2 separate regions of the Homo sapiens genome follow, and region 2 is linked to region 1. Evidence: promoter capture Hi-C in human tissues and cell types (Jung and others, 2019). All regions are on one chromosome and are shown on one strand. The core of a region is centred on a gene start or on the middle of the fragment in contact, and the rest is flanking DNA. Distances in the headings are between cores, read along the strand shown.

Region 1 (2,886 bases), core at 387-2,886:
TCTATGGATTTATCAGATGAAACTTTGGAAAGGGACTTTTTTTTTTTTTTAAGACAGGGTTTCGCTGTCACCCAGGCTGGAGTGGAGTGGCGCGATCTTGGCTCACTACAACCGCCGCCTGCCAGGCTCCAGAGAGTCTCCCACCTCAGCCTCCCAAGTGGCTGGGACCACAGGTGCATGCCACCAAGCCCACCTAATTTTCTTCTTTTCTTTCTTTCTTCCTTTCTTTCTCTTTGCTTCTTTTTCTTTCTTTCTTTCTCTGTCTCTTTTTTTTTTTTTTTTTTTAAGAGATGGGGTCTCGCCATGTTGCCCTGAGGTCTGGCGATCTACCGACTCGGCCTCTCAAAGTGCTGGGATTACAGTCATGAGCCAGCACGCCCAACTGAGAGAGACTATGATGTTCTCCAAACAAATCTCATTTGGTTGAAACTCTACAGCTGAGTATGGTCTAATTTGAGTAGTTTACCTTGAGTACTCTAACCATGGTCTATAGACCTGGGCTCTTCTGAGAACTGTTTGCAAATGGTTCACAGAGAGAGAGTAGAAAACTCTATGTCAATTTTGCAGGTAATTTTATGGCTGTTAACTCTAACGATAAAAAGTTTTGACTTGGACTTTGTATGTCTTTTCATTTTTCTGTTTTATTAACTTGTCAAAAACTAATTGAAAATTGAAAAAAATAAACCGACCGTTCCCCCAGTGAAGAGAAGCACTGCTGTAAAGCTTTTCACACTCAAATATTACCAAACTCTAAGGTCGCTTCTGAGGCCTAACTCCCCAAAATGATGCCTCGGATATTTTTCCTCGCCTTATTTCTTTTTTTTCTTTTTCTTTTTTTTTTTTTTTCCTTTTTCCTTTTATTTGAGACGGAGTTTTTGCTCTGTTGCCCAAGCTGGAGTGCAATGGCACGATCTCGGCTCACTGCAAACTCCAACTCCGCCTCCGCCTCCGCCCTCGCCTCCTGAGTAGTTGGGATTACAGACGCGCGCCACCACGCCCAGCTAATTTTTGTTTGTTTAGTAGAGACGAGGTGTCACCATGTTGGCCAGGCTGGTCTCGAGCTCTTGACCTCCGGTAATCCACCCGCCTCGCCCTCCCAAAGTGCTGGGATTACAAGCGTAAACCACCGCGCCCGACCTCCTCCCCTTATTTCATCCATTTTATAATTCACATTATTGATCGCTGATAATTGCACCTATTGTAATGATACTGATAATTGCACCTGTTGTAATAATATTGATATTGATAATTGCACCTATTGTATTACAATATTATTATTGATATCGATAATTTCACCTACTGTAATGATCAATAAAGGCAGGCAGAAAGAAAACAAAAGTAACTGAAACTACCAGGCAGCGTCCCTGCGAACAGCAAAGAGGGAAGAAACGCCTTGAGGCGTAGTAACGCCACCAATAAGGAGTCGACGCGACGGGTCCGCCCACAGGCAAGGAAGGCCGACCCCGCGAGTGCAGGCGCGAGCGCTAGCCCGTGACGTCTGAGGGGGTTGGGGGGATGCTGTGTGGGTTTCAAGAAGACGCCACGCCTCCGCCGCCGCCACGCCCCCGCCGCCTCCACCGCCGGCTGCCGCGCCCGGAGGAGGTCGGGATGTTATCACTTCCGCCGGGGCTTCTCACTGTGTCCGGGTCAGCTGCTGCCGCCGACGCCGTACCGCTGCGGCCGGGGGATTGGGCCGGGGTCTCCACCGCCGACCGAGGGGAGCGGGCTCCGCTCGGCCCTGCTTTTTGCGACCTGGCCGTCAGCCCCACGTCGCCGGCCTGGAGGGGCGAAGAGGACGAGGGGGCCAAGGCTTCCTCCGGGGTGAGTGCGGCCTGGGAGAACTCGGCACGGTGGCTCCGGAGCTGGACTGGGAACCGGCCTAGGGGCGAAAGTCTGTCGGGCGCGTGCCCACGACGTCCGGGGAGAGGAAACCCAGAGAGTTACCCTTGGTAGGGGGAGCCATAGAACCTGCTCGGGAGGTGCTTCCTGGATCCCCGCCCTGCTTAGGTCCCCGCCCTTGGCTTGGGTCCTGTTTGTATTTGGCAGTTTGGCCCCCCACCCCGTCGCTTTTCCGTTTCTGGTAGTTGTGCTCGGGATGGAACCTTGCCCCTCCTCCGCTCCCCCACCCTTTTACCCTGGTGTGGGTGAAGTGGCTGGGCTACGATGGTTCAGTATTTATGACCAGCGTCCGTCCTGGTACAGAACAAAGAAACTTGGACTTCTGGTATGCCTCGTAACCGCGGGGAATAGACACGGAAGCAGCATAAGTAATCAGGGCTTTAATAGATCTTCCCTAGTACGCTAAACCAAATACAGAGTGTGTACGTCAAAAGCCGAGTCCCCGCGTGAATCTAGACACAACCCTTTCTGTTTAAATACCTGGCAAAATGGTTTGGATTTCTGGATGCATTTCATGCCGCTGGAGAGTTACTTGTCTGTGTCTTGTGAGCTCTTTGACGAAACAGCTTTTCCGGTGTTGCATCAAGATAGTTACGGTGCCTCCTATTTATTTAATTGAATAAACTATGTGATTGCATTTTAGTGTTGCTTTTTTCATTCTCACCTTCTCTTGATTAGGATCTCTATTTCACCTAATACCTGATTTCGTATTTTCAATTAAATGTAGTTTTTCTAACATTTTATAGGAATCTCTGCAATTGTAGAAACAAATTCTGTAATTTGTAAATGGATGTTTCCTCAAAGTTACAACTGACCTTACCCAATTAAGTTACCCCTGCAGACTAGTTTCTTGATCATTTTGCACATATTCTTAGTTCTTTTTGGTTTACATTTTCTCTAAACTCTATTCCTAGTCTTCATATTCTCTAGTGCAGCCTAATACTGCTGGGCTTAGACCGGAAGTATGACAGATCCACTTCTGCAAAC
Region 2 (2,886 bases), core at 256-2,755, 1.3 Mb before region 1:
ATGTGTGCATATGCATATTTTTTATACACACATATACATATACATAAACTGACTTTCATAGTTTTGTGAGTTTTAAACTATATTTTTCTAATATCCTTCACAATCATTTGCGTTTTTCTCAAAATTAATGGGGAAGAGATACTATAAAGTATAGCTTATCTTTTATTAGAAATAAACTTGCTTAGTAAGTTGGATATACACGCAACCTTAAAAATCTGTTTTAGATGCTACATTTTTTTCAGTTCTCGAATGTGCTTAAAAGTCACGGCATTGTTTTGTTCATAATCACCATCCTGTTATGGGCCCCAAATATGCTTGGCAATCTTCTAATTCTCTGATTGACTCATTTTCTCACACAACATGACAACTGTTTTAAATTTCTTCTCAAACTTCCTGTGCTTCAACTCTTCCTTCTCAGGACCTGTGCACCATGGATTATTCCTTCTCTTCTAAAACCCACTCTACCTCTCACATGGGTCATGCCCACTGGCTTACAGAAAAGTAACAAGACTAGTACAGATAAACTTAATTTTCTTCTCAATCATCTGAGAATAAGTTGCCAACCTCATGCCCCAATACCTGGAATACTTTAGTGTGTAATCCCTGTATACAAGGATATTCTCCTGCATATACATAATACAACCATCAATATCAGCAAATTAGCACTGATACATTATAACCTTCAAATCCTTTGACCCCGTTCAAGTTTCACCCATTGTCTCAATCAGGTCCTTTATAGCCAAAGGTACTAGTTCAGAATCACCTATTACATCTAGTTGTCAGGTCTCTTTAGTTTCCTTTAATGTGAACACTTCCTTAGCGTTTCCTTGACTTCCATAACCTTGACACAGATGATGACTCTAGGTCAGTTACTTCATGGAATGACCATCACTTTGGGTTTGTCTTATGATGAGATTCCAATTATGCAGTTTCAGGCTATGAAGTGTCAGGGCTCCTCAGAGCTCAGTCTCAAGCCTTCCTGTCATCTCACTGGGGCAGGATCATGCGTACTTATGCCTCCACTTGTCTCTCTTTAGGTGAGCCACAGATCCCCATCTCAAGCCCAGGCCTCTCCAGTGAGCTCTGGAATCATTGCACCCACTGTCTTCCTCGTGGCCCTTTTTGGATACCAAAGGCTTTGATCTCCATGTCTAAAACCAGACTCATTGTCTCCCTCTGACATCTTGGGCCTCTTACAGTGTCCTGTCTCCCATGGGTGCCACCACTATCCATCTTGTTATAAAACATGAAAACAAGAATTCTTTCCCCTTCTTTACCCTCAGATCCAGTCTGTCACCCTGTCCTGTTGATTTAACATCTTACACATCTTTCTAATCTCTTCACTTCGGCCCATCCATGCTACCTCCACCTTTGCCTTGGACTTTTGCAGCCTCTCAACTGGCCTACACATAAGCTTTCCAACTCCCTCCCGTCTGTACTCCTTACTTTAGCCAGAATGATCTTTTCACAATGTAAATTCCATTGTGTCCTTTCCTCTTCCCTCCACCTCTTTCCTGCTTAAAGCCCTCCAGTGCCACCCATTGCATTTAGGATAAACAGAACATCAACATGGCTGGCAGGGCCCTGTGTGGATTTGCTCCTGCTTCCCTCCTCAGTCTCATCTCAGGCCTGATCCTCCCTGGCCTTTTTTTTCTGTCTTTCCAATGGTGCTCGTCATGTGTCCTCCAACCACACACAGGAGCTTTGCTCCTCAGCTTGTCATTTCCCTAGGCTTGCAGTATTTTCACATAGATTTATTGGGATATAATTCACAGACCATCTGGTTCGGGTTGGTGTTTAGATGTTTTTTTTTTTAATTCACAGACCTCACAATTCACCCATCTAGAGTGTATAATTCAGTGTTTTTAATATATTCACAGAGGTGTGCAACCATCACCACTATCTTACTTCAGACCATCAGTACTATCTTATTTCAGAATATATTCATCACCCCAAAAAGAAACCTGTATCCTCTAGCACTCACTCCCCATCATACCCACTAGCAGTCACTCTTCAGCCACCACCACCCTCACCACCACCATCCCTCCTGTTCTGGACAATTTATGTAAGTAGAATCATACAATACTGTGGCATCTTTCCCTTAACATAATGTTTTTGAGTTTCCTCTGCATTTTAGCGTGAATCAGTACTTCATTTCTTTTTATGATGGAATATATTTCATTGTATGGACAGACTATATTTTATTTGCCCACGCATCAGTTGATAGACATTTGGGCCAGCCTTTAAATATTGAATTCAGCATCACTTCCTCAGTGAACTTTCCTGACCTGCATGACTAGGCCAGATCCTGCTAGATAGGGTTACTGCACTGTGTCTGTCACCTTGCTAGCATTTGTCATGGTTGCAATTCTACTTTTGTTTGCTTGATTCTTGGCCTAATTTAATGCTGGTCTTTTCTAACAGACTGTAAACTAGAGGGGGCAGGTACTGTATCTGCTTTGACTCACCATGATATTCTAACACCTAACAAAGGGCCCCGCACATAGTAGGAGCTCATTAGATACTTGTTGAATGAATGAATCCTAATTTAGTTCATTAAAACCAGATTGTTTCTGGCAGTCTACTTATCTAGACCGTTTGTATGAATTTCCTTGGCATAGTCTCTATTGTGCTGGAGATAGGAAGGGCCCTCCATAAACCACTCAACTCCTCCTCATGCCCCCAGCATGCCTTTACCCGTTTGTGTATTTATTAATAGAATTCAGCATTTATTTTATATATTTATTGGAATTAAGTTGCAAAAATGTAGAAGTAACCATGATGGGCAAAAGCAGAGCAGGTCCTGATGTGAATACATTGTGAGCCAGAAGCAGAGCTGTCAAAATCCAGGTTACTGTCAGATGTGAAGAGGAATGGGATTCCCAG

The links. Contacts are between HindIII fragments. The study calls those that stand out against the background at their distance.
Region 2: a contact is called between a fragment that was not itself captured here and the fragment with the promoter of BNIP2 in region 1, in 1 of the 25 tissues and cell types used here (dorsolateral prefrontal cortex).

What each region holds. Positions count from the first base shown.
Region 1 is chr15:59,688,070-59,690,955 of GRCh38, reverse strand. BNIP2 (BCL2 interacting protein 2) reads left to right here and starts at 1,636. Exons shown (of 10, transcript NM_004330.4): 1 at 1,636-1,821. RefSeq lists a silencer at 1,359-1,868 and an enhancer at 1,282-1,930. The HindIII fragment of the contact is 13,463 bases long and covers 84-2,886 here.
Region 2 is chr15:61,028,076-61,030,961 of GRCh38, reverse strand. All of the region lies in intron 1 of RORA (RAR related orphan receptor A), which reads left to right. All of the region lies in intron 2 of LOC107984805 (a long non-coding RNA gene), which reads left to right. Among named protein-coding and RNA genes, the nearest start is that of RORA, 200 kb to the left of the region's middle. The HindIII fragment of the contact is 6,223 bases long and covers 1-2,886 here.